3 separate regions of the Homo sapiens genome follow, and all the other regions are linked to region 2. The links are contacts of gene promoters, found by promoter capture Hi-C in human tissues and cell types (Jung and others, 2019). All regions are on one chromosome and are shown on one strand. The core of a region is centred on a gene start or on the middle of the fragment in contact, and the rest is flanking DNA. Distances in the headings are between cores, read along the strand shown.

Region 1 (4,185 bases), core at 781-3,280, 130 kb after region 2:
TCTAGCTAAAGCTTGTCAATTTTGTTGACCTTTGATAAGAACCAAATTTTGGTTTCCTTTATGTTCTCTATTGTCTTTCTATTCTCAATGCAATTTCCTTCCATCTCATTTTTATGATTTTCTTCCTTTGACTTGCTTTGGGTTTACTTTGCTCTTTTTTTTCTTGTTCCTTAAAGTATAAAGTTATGCTATTAATTTGAAATCTTTCTTCTTGTTTATTGTGGTAAGTATACATAAAAGTTACCATTTTAGTCATTTTTAAGTGTACAGTTCTGTTGCAGTAAGTTTTTTTATTTTTTAAATATACTCACAGATATAAATTTCCCTCTAAGCACTGCTTTAGTCACATCTCACAAGATTTGGTGGGTTATGTTTTTTCTTTTATTAACCTCAAGAAAGTTTGTTACTTGATTCATTGATTATTTATGAGTATTGTTCAATTGCCATATATTTATGAATTTTCAAAATTTCCTTTGTTTTTAAGTTCTAATTTAATTCTATTGTGGTTGGAGAACACACTTTGTATCATTCCCATCCTCTCAAATTCACTGAGACTTGTTTTATATGGTATATCCTGGAGAATGTTCCATGTTCTTTGGAAAAGCATATCTATTCTCCTGTTTTGGAGTGGATTTCATAGATGTAGTAGATCTAGTTTGTAGTGCTGTTCAAGTTTTCTATTTCCTTGCCAATCTTTTGTTGTTATTTTATTCATTTATGCAAAGTGGAGTATCAAAGTGTCCAACTATCATTCTTTACTTGTCTACTTCTCCCTTCAATTCTGTCAGTTTTTGCTTCATGGATTTTGTGGTTCTGTTATTAGGTGCATATATGTTTAAAATTGTTATAGCTTCCTGATGAGTTGACACTTTTACTGTTATAAAATTTCCCTCTTTATAGTTAATAATGTTTTTTGAAAATAAATTCTTGTTGTTTCATCCCCTCAGTCTATGGTATTTTGTTATGGCAGCCCAAAATGACTGAGACAACATGTTTTTCCATTTTTAAAATTTCAACCTACTAATATCTTTGAGTCTAAAGTGTAGCTCCTGTAGACAGAATGATTTGTTCAGATTCATGGGACAAAAACTAGAACTGTGATCTCCACAGAGGGTGCTGGTGAAATCAGCTCTCTTGGTCAGGGGTTGTAAAAAGCCCTGGTTTGTACCTGTTGCCAATTTCCATAATATAAACAGTTGTCTCTTAGCCTCCATGGGGGACTGGTTCTAGAAGCTCTTGTGGAAACTAAAATTATGGATGTTCAAATCCCTTATGTAAAATGGCATAGTATTCACACATAACCTACAAATATCCTCCTGTATATTTTAATCTCCAGATTACTTATAATACCTAATACAATGCAAATGCTATCTAAATAGTTGTTATACTGTATTGTTTAGGGAATAAGAAAAAAAGTCTGTACATGCTCAGACACAATCATCATAAGCCTAACTACATTTTTGATCCATGATTGATTGAATCTGCAGATGTAGAACGCACAGATATGGAGAGTTTACTGCACATGAATCTTATTTATCCAGTCTGAAAATTTCTGCCTTTTGATTGGACTGTTTAATCCATTCACATTTAATGTTATATTAATATAGTTGGATTTATGTCTACCAGTGTGCTTTTGTTTTTTATAGGTTTCATTCCTTTTTTGTTAATTTGTTTCTCCTTTACTGTTTTCTTTGGCTATTTTAAAATAAATTTTAATCCCTTTAATGATGTTTTATTTTTGAGGAATTTTCTTAGTGGTTGCTCTAGGGCTTACAATATACATCTTTATCAGAATCTATTTCAGATAAATACAAACTTAATTCCAGTGAAATATCAAAACTTTACTACTATATGGCTCTGTTCCCTCCCCCACCTTATTGTTACACACAATAGGTTTACATGTTACAAACCCAAGAATAAACTGTTATACTTATTAATAATTTTGTGTCTTTTAAAGGTAATTTAAAAAGAACAAGTATATATTTATAGAGTTTTTCATATGAGCCTTCTTATTTACTATTATGGTTCTTTTCACTTCTTCCCGTGGATTTGAGATACTCTCTGGTGTCATTTCCTTACTGCAAAATAGCTTTATTCCCATCTACTTTCCTTGTGTTGTTATAACATTTCTGCTATTGGCCCCAAAATACAATTATATGCATAATGTTTTATTTGATTGCCTTTTAAGAGAAAGGAAAATAAAGATGCAATTATATTCTCTTTTATACTTACTTACTTTCATGTAATGTCTTTCTTTTTTCCTGTGAATTCAAATTATTCTCGACATCATTTGCTTTCAGTCTTAAGAACTTTTAGTATTTACTGAAAGGTAGGTTTGCAACAAATGAATTCTCATTTTGCTTATTTGAAATATCCATTTTGCCTTCAATTTTGAAAGACAGTTTTGTTTCTATTTCAAAACTTTGAATATGTTATCCACTTCCCTTTAGCCTTCTTGGTTTTGGGGAGAAGTCAGCTATTAATCTTATTGGGGGTTCCATGCATCATTTTTCTTATGATAATTTCAAGATTTTTTTTTTGTCTTTCAACATTCTGACAATAACATGTCTACTTTTGAATCTCTTTGCATTTATCCTACTTGGAGTATGTTGAGCTTCTGAAAATATGTTTTTCACCAAACTTGGGAAGTTTCTAGTCATTATTTCTTTGACTACTTAAAAAATTTTTCATTACACATATGTTGCCCTTAATGGTGTCCCACATTATACATGTGTCTATGTGTGCTTACTATCATTTGCATACCATATAATTCACACATATAAAATGTACACTTCAATGGTTTCTTAGTGAATTCCCAGAATTACACAACAATCACAATTTTAGAACATTTTTATCACTCCTTGTCCTTTAGCAGTCCCCTCTGTATTTCCTTTAAACACCTTTAGCTTTAAGCAACCACTACTAATCTACTTTCATTCTTTGTAAATGTGCCTATTCTTGACATTTCATATGAATGGACTCATGGTTTTGTTACTGGCTTCTTTCACTTAACCTAATGCTTCCAACATTCATCCAAGTTGTAGCATAAATTACTATCTCATTTATTTTTATGATTGAATAATATTCAATTGTATAGATATACACATTTATTTATGCATTCATCAGTTGATGGACTTTGGGTTGTTTCCACTTTTAAGGCCACTATGAATAATACTGCTATTAACATCCTTGTATAAATTTTTGTGTGAACACCTGTTTTAAATTATTTGGGGTATATACTTAGGAGAAGCAGCTCTGGGCCACAGGGTAACATTACATGTAACCTATTGAGGAAGTCCCATACTGTTTTCCAAGATGGCTGTACCATTTTGCATTCCCACCAACAGTGTATGAGGGTTCCAAACTCTTCCTGGCCTCATCATCTGGGTTTTTTTTTTTTTAGTGGTATCTCACATGGTTTTGGTTTTCATTTCCCTAATGACTAATGATGTTGCGCATCTTTTCATGTGCTTTTTGGCCATTTGTATATCTTCTTTAGAGAAATGCTATTCAGATCTTTTGCCCACTTTAAATTGGGTTACGTCTCCTAAGTTGTAAGGGTTCATTATTCTAAATTAAAATGCATAATCAGATGTATGATATACAACATTTCTTCCCAATCTGTGGGTTGTCTTTTCACTTTCTTGATGATATCCATTGAAGCAATATTTTTCAAATTTCGATGAAGTTAAATTTATCTATAATGTGGTGTCAGTGAAAATAGCAAAGACTTTGAAATTCTGCCCTAACATAAAAGCAATTAAAAGTCTGGCAAACAAACTGTCACAATCAACTTTTTTGGAACTTTTTAAACTAATCAAAAGCTTTTAGCATCCCAGGAAGTGCTTACCCAAGAAAAATGGCTGAATCTCAGAACAACAGCTTTGTGGTATTTTAAGTTACTCTAGTCTCATTCTCCACTCCTCACCTCAGCAACAGCACTGTAAATAACAGCCCTCATTCCCAGTACTAGAGGAAGAACAGTCTTCAATCACAAAATACCTTAACTATTTATACTGACCTGTCTGGTGGCTCCCTGGAAGTCCAGCTCAGAAGGCCTGTCTTTATTTTGCCTAACTTGGAGTTGGTCCAGAGCTAAAGTTGCTAACTAGGGGTAATGTTTAAAATATTAGCAGCCAAATGCTTTATTTGCTGCTGCCTGGGGTGACAGATAACAACTGGGGC
Region 2 (4,199 bases), core at 1,549-4,048:
TGATATCATTTGACCTTGTTCATATTGTGGAGGGAGAGCCCATTCCTTAGGGTTTTGCTGTAAAGGTCAATGGATCCAGCAATTCACAAGAAAATAATTACACTTTACATTTGTCTAACTGTTTTAATTTATCAAAGCACATTGACATGCATTATCTCATTTGGTGATCACATCAGATAGGCCATTTATCAGGATATTAAAATCAGTCGGGAGAGAGGGGACCTTGTCCCATACCCCATGGCTGGGGAGGCTCAGAGCCAGGATTTGAGGTTTCTAAATTTCGTATCTAGAGATTTGTCCCCTACAATAATTTTTATTTCTCTATCCAATTAAAGTCTATATATCTATGCACAGAAATTCCGTTTGAGACCTAGGACTTCTACTTCCTGTGGTTTATTTTTGCGCCATAGAGCACATTTGTATTTAATGTGTCTTCTGAGCTACCAGCCTGGGAACTTTGCCATCATCACATGCACAGCGGCAGTTTGCTCACCATGCACCAGTGAGCTTCCTCCGCCGCCTGAGCAGCTGGGCTTGGTCCCTGGCAGCAGGCATCTGGGGCATGTAGCTGCCTCTTCAGCTGTCCTGCCAACAGAAGAAACTTACCTCCCATCATCTCCCTGAGTGCCTGCCTCAGCCGCCTTGTATGTATTCATTGCTGTGTCTATAATAAATCAGCGGGTCCTTGCTGGAAGCTTGGACGTTTCAATGGAGAGCTTTCCAGTAAGTGGTGCTTCTGGTTCTTTCCTTCCTGCCTAACCCTTGTCAAATTTCTTTACCATGAAAAGCAGTTCCATATTTGCTAAGGCTTTTAATTTCTTTTCCAAAAAATCTATTTTTGGCCAGACGTGGTGGCTCATGCCTGTAATCCCAGCACTTTGGGAGGCCAAGGCAGGCGGATTACAAAGTCAGGAGATAGAGACCATCCTGGTCAACATAGTGAAACCCCGTCTCTACTAAAAACACAAAAATTAGCTGATTGTGGTGGCGCGTGTCCGTAGTCCCAGCTACTTGGGAGGCTGAGGCAGGAGAATCACTTGCACCTGGGAGGCGGAGGTTGCAGTGAGCCGAGATTGTGCCACTGCACTCCAACCCGGGCAACAGAGCAAGACTCTGTCTCAAAAAAAAAAAAAAAAAAATCTATTTTTTTGGCTTCTTTACCTATATAATCTTCCTGTCTTCTCCAACTCTAGCCTTCTATGTAAGTCTGTAATATCAGGCAGGCTTAACAGTTAGATGAAATCTAGGATTTTCTTGGAAAGGATGTTAGAAAATGAGATTCAGAGTGGCTGTAGGAGGTTACAGAGAGGCAGCAAGAGAGAAAAGGAGACCTTGCAAAGAGAAATCAGGTGGAAGAAGGGCCATAGGAAATTCAGGAATTTCTGAATGGGGCATTTTAGCAAAAAATGAATGAAAAGTCAATGTCATATGAATCAGGGTGTTGCGAACATTAACATATCTGAAAATTGACTTTTGAAATATGTCTCCTCAACACTTGGAAGCTGACATTTCTTCTGCATGACATGCTTGTCAGTTTTATTTTCAAATATCAAAGACTATTTATACAATCAAAATGTCCTTTCACATAAAATTTTTATAGTTTTGCCTGAAAATTTGTGGTCAATTTATTTCTTGCACAGTCAAAGCGGTCAACTGCATAAATCATTACTCCTTCATTGCAAGCCCCTTAACAGTTTAATCCAGAACCATCACTTATGTCAAGGTTCTAATACCATTTGTTTCTGGATTTTGCTTGTTTTCTCTTCATCTATTTGAGATCAGTGAAGAGCTTACACAGAAGTTAGAAAAACAACAAGAATAATTGCTGTTCAAGGTGAGTGGATTAGTGAGTGAACCAATCTAGGTGGTCCAAATGCTTCTATCGCCTCCTTGCCTGGGCTCTGATTACATCTCACTCAGTGTGATGTCTGTCATCCCTGGACAGAGCTGTCTTAACAGTGAATACATCTTTACCTAGCATCTCTCTTTCTAAGAACCCCACTAGGACCACTCTTTGGAAAAATGTGGTCAAGGCCACATCTGGGTGCCTGTGGTAAGCTGGCTAGTCATCCTCGCCCACCACAGATGCTAGCTGCCTTAGCACGCCCAGATGTATAGGTAAGAACCAAGCAACCAAATCATCTTTCTGCATCAAAGTAGCCAAAACTTTTTTGTTGAACCCAGTGATACTTTGTTCAAATTGGTCAAGAATAGAATTGAGTGGTTCAGCATTAAATTTTCCAATTAGTGTTCTGCTTATCATCCCTAAATAACACATCTCATAGGAGTGAAAAGCAAAAAACAAAAAATTTATCTCATCTTTTGGTGTCAACTAGTTTCAATATAATTGTATTCAGTCCCCACTTATCTCGTTTTCCTTAACTAGTTGTTCTTTGATTTCAAATCTGCTGTTCTCCCAGTGGGAAGATCACCTCTTCCACATGTGGAAGAAAACACAGGTTCCTTGGGTTCCCAAGAAGCTGTTCACAAAGCCTCTGCTTATTTACAAAGCAAGATCGATGCTGTCCTACCTGAGCTCATTTTCAACCCTGAACCCTTTCCTGCGGGCCAGCTCCATGAGGAACGCTCTGCGGGTGGTTCCCATTTTCTTCTCCAAAATGAAGACGACCAAATCTTGAAATTTGATGTCTTGAGGAGAGGAGGCCATCAAGGCACCCGTCTGCCGGGGTCTCTTCTTCCGAGGGCTCAAGTGGGACGCTCGTGGTGGATCCATGGGAAGAGGCTGCTGCTGCCTCTGGCTGGCCCATCTGGTGGTGTCTCCAGAAGGGAGGGAGACTGCCACCCTCCTACACGAAGGGTTTTGATGTCATCTCACCAGCAGACTCTGAAGCCAGGCCAGGGCTTCACAGGTGCTGCCCTGGCAACAGCTTCCTGCCAAAGTGTGATGGGGAATTTTTATCTCTGTTCAGTTCATTTGTCCAATATGGAGATCATAATGAAGACAGTCAATTAACTTTTGTTTTCATACGCACAATCTCATTAGCTCCTCAGAGTAACCTCGTGAGGAAGGTAGGGAAGCATCATTGTTTGCATGTTATTTATTTCTAAATGTACTGAGGCCCTTCTGTGGTCTTTATTTATTGATCCCCTTTAAACCTCCCAACTCACTTGCATTCTCCTCCTTTTGTAGACAATCATTACACTGTACTGGATGTCTGTTATTTGCATGGGTGTTATATTCTGCTTGTGGTTGTTTTGACTTTACATAAATGGCATTGTTACATTTCTCATTTTGCCAATCACCTTTTTATTTCACTTGGAACTATGTTTTCCAGATCCGTATTCTAATTGCTCTGTTGCTTCTAACTGCTCCATAGTATTTCATGGTGGGTATTACCACCTGTTCACTTACATAGGTACATTTTATAAGCAAGAGAACCAAGGCTCAGTTATTCAAGATCACAGAATAAGGGGCCAAGCCATATCTTGAATTCAGTTCTTTGGATTCCAAATGCTGTATGCATATATTAGTTTTTTAAGTGGATTAAGGTTGTCCAGAGAGTAGTCTGTTATAAACCCTAAAATAGGTCTTCTTCAGTGGGATGGTATGACTTTTAGATGATAACCACTGCCATAAGGAGACATTTTCATAACTTTATGTGCAAAATTAAATTTGTCTTTCACCAATACACTCTATAGATCTCATTTCCTGAGCAGCTACTACACGGCCAAGGCAAGCACCTACCAGCCTTAGCTGACAGGATCCTCACAATACCACTGTCAGGTGGTCCTACCTTTCTCATTTGGCTAAACAATTTGCCCAAGGTCACAGAGCTACTGAATTTTCACAACTGAGAAATGATTGAGCTAGGATTTGGACTCAGATCTGTCTGATTTTAAAAGACTACTCTTAACCACCAAGGAGCCTTCCTCTGTATTGTCTTCTCCAATAACCAATCTGAGCTCTGCTCACCCTTTGTCCTTTTTTTTTTTTTTGGAGATGGAGTTTCGCTCTTATTGCCCAGGCTAGAGTGCAGTGACACAATCTCAGCTCACTGCAACCTCCACCTCCTGGGTTCAAGCGATCCTGCTACCTCAGCCTCCTGAATAGCTGGGATTACAGGCGCACGCCACCACGCCTGGCTAATTTTTGTATTTTTAGTAGAGATGGGGTTTCACCATGTTGGTCAGGCTGGTCTTGAACTCCTGACCTCAGGTGATCGGCCCACCTCGGCCTC
Region 3 (4,176 bases), core at 777-3,276, 160 kb after region 2:
TATAAACATTGTTATTAATATAGTTAAAAAAGCAGAAAAGACTGGATGGAGAAAAAGAACACCTGTGACATCAAATATTTAGAATCCCTTACAGCAGAATTCACAATGGAAAACAGAAGAGGGAGCAATAGCAACAAAATTTTGGATACTGAAAAACAGATAAATGACCTTGCAGACAGCTGGGAAAGCTAGGAACTAACACATTTTACATTCTGAATCTTTACGAGGCCTAAGAACTGCCAGCTTGTGGGAGGAAGGAGGAAGGGGGAAGCTAAAACAGAAAGAAATTTGGAGAAAGTTGGTTGACTTATAGTTGGATGCTAAGATTCTCTTCCCCACTCTATCATGCTATTGGTTACTGTTGTTTCCCCACTACAGAAGTCTAGAGGCTTACTCTCTACAGTGGGTAAAACGAATCTTTGTTTTAGGGGAGACCAGGCACAGGGGAGAGAGTAGGCACTATGCCAAAACCAAGAGGATTAAACGACCATATACATGAGACACAAACCCTCACCTCATATCCCCTTTTTTTCTGCTTCTAAGTTGGCTCCTAGGCGACAGCAATGCTCCTTAAACTATGGTCTGCTGATGGCCCATAAGCCATCTATCACCAGTCCATGACAAGGTAAGTACCAAAACCGAAAATAAACATTTATAAACTTTTCAGAGTTAGACTTATCTGTTGAATCTAATAATAAAAACATGTACTTATGTTTTGTATGTCTTCATTTTTAAAATTTCATTATTCTGGCAATTTATTTTTATTATGCTTTAAAATTATCAGCTGTAACAGATTGAGGTAAAAGAAAAAAAAAATCAGGCCAGGCACGGTGGCTCACGCCTGTAATCCCAGCACTCTGGGAGGCCGAGGCGGGCAGATCACCAGGTCAGGAGATCAAGACCATCCTGGCTAACATGGTGAAACCCCGTCTTTACTAAAAATACAAAAAATTAGCCGGGTGTGGTGGTGGGCGCCTGTAGTCCCAGCTACTCGGGAGGCTGAGGCAGGAGAATGGTGTGAACCTGGGAGGCAGAGCTTGCAGTGAGCCGAGACCATGCCACTGCACTCCAGCCTGGGCGACAGGGCGAGACTCCGTCTCAAAAAAAATTCTGGAGCTTCACTAGTTGGAGAAGCACTGGGCCAGATTCTGGTGCCTGGCCCAGCCCAAAGAGCTCCCCACAGTGGGAGTCAAAACCTTGTGTTACAAGCCCTTCTGTGGGTTCAGACAGGGGCTTTCCATGAGCTTCTGAGACACAAGCAGACAGGCCAGAGGATTACTGGACAGTCTGAGAAAACCCTCTAATATTAGTTCAAGATCCAGACCAATTAAATCAAAAAAAGTAATTTGTTAGAAACTGAGACTATGTACTAAGACAAAACATTTTTTTTTTTGAGACAGAGTTCCACTCTTGTTGCCCAGGCTGGAGTGCAATGGCACGATCTCAGCTCACCACAACCTCCACCTCCCAGGTTCAAGCGATTCTCCTGCCTCAGCCTCCCTAGTAGCTGGGATTATAGGCATGTGCCACCACACCAGGCTAATTTTGTATTTTTAGTAGAGACATGGTTTCTCCGTGTTGGTCAGGCTGGTTATCGAACTCCCAACCTCAGGTGATCCACCCACCTCGGCCTCCCAAAGTGCTGGGATTACAGGCGTGAGCCACCGCGCCCGGCCAAGACAAAACATTTAAAACTCATTGATTTCTAGGGATATAAGAAATAAGAACAGGATGCCACAAAAAGGGAACATCAAAAGAACAAAAAGAACTCTAAGAAATAAGAAAACATAACCAAAAAGGGGCAACAGAAGGGCTATAAGGTAAAGGTGAAATAACCTCTCAGAAAAAAACAAAACACAGAGATGAAAAATAGGAGAAACAAGGTAAGAAAGAAGAGCAATCTAGGAGGTCTAACATTTGACTAACAGGAGGGCAGGAAGAGAGTACAAAGGGGAAGGAAATCATCAATAAAATAACTTTTTAAAGTACTGAGCTGTAGGAAATCAGTTTCCAGGATGATAATGTCCACCAAGTGCTCAGTGTAAGGTACGCAGGCATATCATTGCAAAGATTCCTAACAGTAGAGACAAAATCCAGTTTCTAAATAGAAACAAAAAAGGTCAGAAAACAAAGGATTAGAAATCAAATGACTTTAGATTTCTCAGCAACAGTAACAGATGGACAAAGACAAAGGGGCAATACCTTCGAATTCTGGCATAAAGCTTTCAACCGAGAATTCTACATTTTGCCAAGGGTCTAGGTATAAGGGTAAAATGAAGACATGCAAAATCTCAAAATTTACCTGCCAGACATCCTTCCCCAAGTTGTTACTATAAGATATACTCCAGCAAAATGAAAGAATAAACAGAGAGAGAGAAAGACATGACATAATATGCATTGGGAGATCAAATGGAGGAGAGAGAAGTAAATAATATCCCCAAGATGACAGTAAAGGGAAATACCAGGATAACAAACAGTTGGACCACAGATCACATGCTCCTGTCAGTCCAAAGACAAGACATCTTTGACATCAAAAGACACACTGAGGACTTCCATCACCAAAAACGTCACTGACACTGTACCGTCTTTTCAACCATTGGACAGAATCCCCAGGTAAGCCTGGCCCAGATTCTCATCTGTATTTGGCTTGTATTGACATAAACTCATGATGTTCCTGCTTTTCCCTCCATACCTTTATATCCAGATCAACTGCATGGTGAGCTTAGAAACCAAAATTACAGAGTAGCCTCTCTCAGACATCCACTATCTGGTCTATACTCTGAGCCTGCCAGATTCTCTGCTTACAGTGGGCCCTAAGGTTGCTAGGATTCACTCATGATTTACCTAGACTTCCCCAAAAGTGGCTCTGATAAACTCCAGAGAAGCTAAAACCAGACTATGATCCAGGTATGCTGTTACCTTAACTTCTCCTGGGAGCCTTCATCTACTAGTGGCACTGTTACCTTTTCACTGTATAGCCAGATTTAGGCTTGCTACCAAATTTTCAAAACTAAACAATTTGGTGTTTATAGTCACCAAAATACCAAAAGTCAGAATGGTAGTTTCATATTTGTTAGGAGCAGAGAGGAGGATATGACCAGAGAGAACACAATGAGGGTAGAGGAAAGGAGCTTCTGTTTCTTAAATAGTTGGTATGCAGATATTTGTTTTATCTTTAAACCACATACATAGTGTGCATTTTGTCCATAAACACATTTCATAATAAAAATAAAAACAAGTTACAAACTAGGCAAAAGACCCAAAGAAGAAAGTCACAGAGGAATATAAGTGAAAACATGCCCAACTTCACTAGAATTCAAAACAAATAAAAACAAGAAAACTTCTGCTAATCAGATTGCAAAAGATGTTACATATTTCTAATACCTAGTGTTGGTCAGTGAGGAAAAAAAGGCACAGTAATATACTAATGATGGAGATAAAAGCTGGCATGACCTTTATAAAGAACAGTTTGCAATACATACATAAAGAGTCTGGAGAAAAGGCATACAACTTCTGATTCACTTCTAGAAATGCATCCTAAAGCTAATAATCAGAAATATTATTTGTGCCATCGTTTATAAAATCACAAAATTAAAAATAAGTGTCCACCAATAAATGATGATTAAATCAATTACAGTATTGTAAGGGAATATTATGCAATTTAAAAACCAATACTGTAAACTCACATTTATTAACACAATGATATCTAACATACCTTAAGTGAAAAAAAAATAAACAGTAGACATATAGAGTTTAATTTGTTCAAATACTGATAGATGGATAGAAAATGGATAAACAAATGCGTCAAAAGTTAAAAGTCAAGAAGAATACACATACAAAAATGTTCCTAGTGATCACTGGTTACTCTTAGGTCAGTGTTTCATAAAATGCTGTCTTAGATCACCATGGCCTCCACACTGGCATACTACCTTATGATAGCACAAGCAAACACCTTACATTTGGACTTTGTGAGAACAGCAATCTTTTTGTCTCTAGACTGCAATTTTATGAAACTTTATGAAAAAGTGGCATGATGCAAATTCTCAAACAAAGCAAGTGATTTCTGTGGTAAACCAACTGAGTTTTTCTTAAACTCAAAATAATATACTTGCTGCCAGTATAAAACAGATCAATGTTGACACTAAAGGTGAAGAAGAGATCAAAACAATACAGGTA

Evidence for each region. Contacts are between HindIII fragments. The study calls those that stand out against the background at their distance.
Region 1: a contact is called between a fragment that was not itself captured here and the fragment with the promoter of DNTT in region 2, in 2 of the 25 tissues and cell types used here (mesenchymal stem cells and spleen).
Region 3: a contact is called between a fragment that was not itself captured here and the fragment with the promoter of DNTT in region 2, in 1 of the 25 tissues and cell types used here (liver).

What each region holds. Positions count from the first base shown.
Region 1 is chr10:96,170,240-96,174,424 of GRCh38, reverse strand. It overlaps a transcript of ZNF518A not described here. Among named protein-coding and RNA genes, the nearest start is that of ZNF518A, 42 kb to the right of the region's middle. The HindIII fragment of the contact is 4,404 bases long and covers 1-4,185 here.
Region 2 is chr10:96,303,033-96,307,231 of GRCh38, reverse strand. DNTT (DNA nucleotidylexotransferase) reads right to left here and starts at 2,798. Exons shown (of 11, transcript NM_004088.4): 1 at 2,532-2,798. The coding sequence starts at 2,734. The HindIII fragment of the contact is 8,985 bases long and covers 1-4,199 here.
Region 3 is chr10:96,145,658-96,149,833 of GRCh38, reverse strand. The region is part of intron 3 of ZNF518A (zinc finger protein 518A); the gene reads right to left. LOC124902486 (a long non-coding RNA gene) reads left to right here and starts at 1,045. Exons shown (of 2, transcript XR_007062254.1): 1 at 1,045-4,176. The HindIII fragment of the contact is 5,609 bases long and covers 1-4,176 here.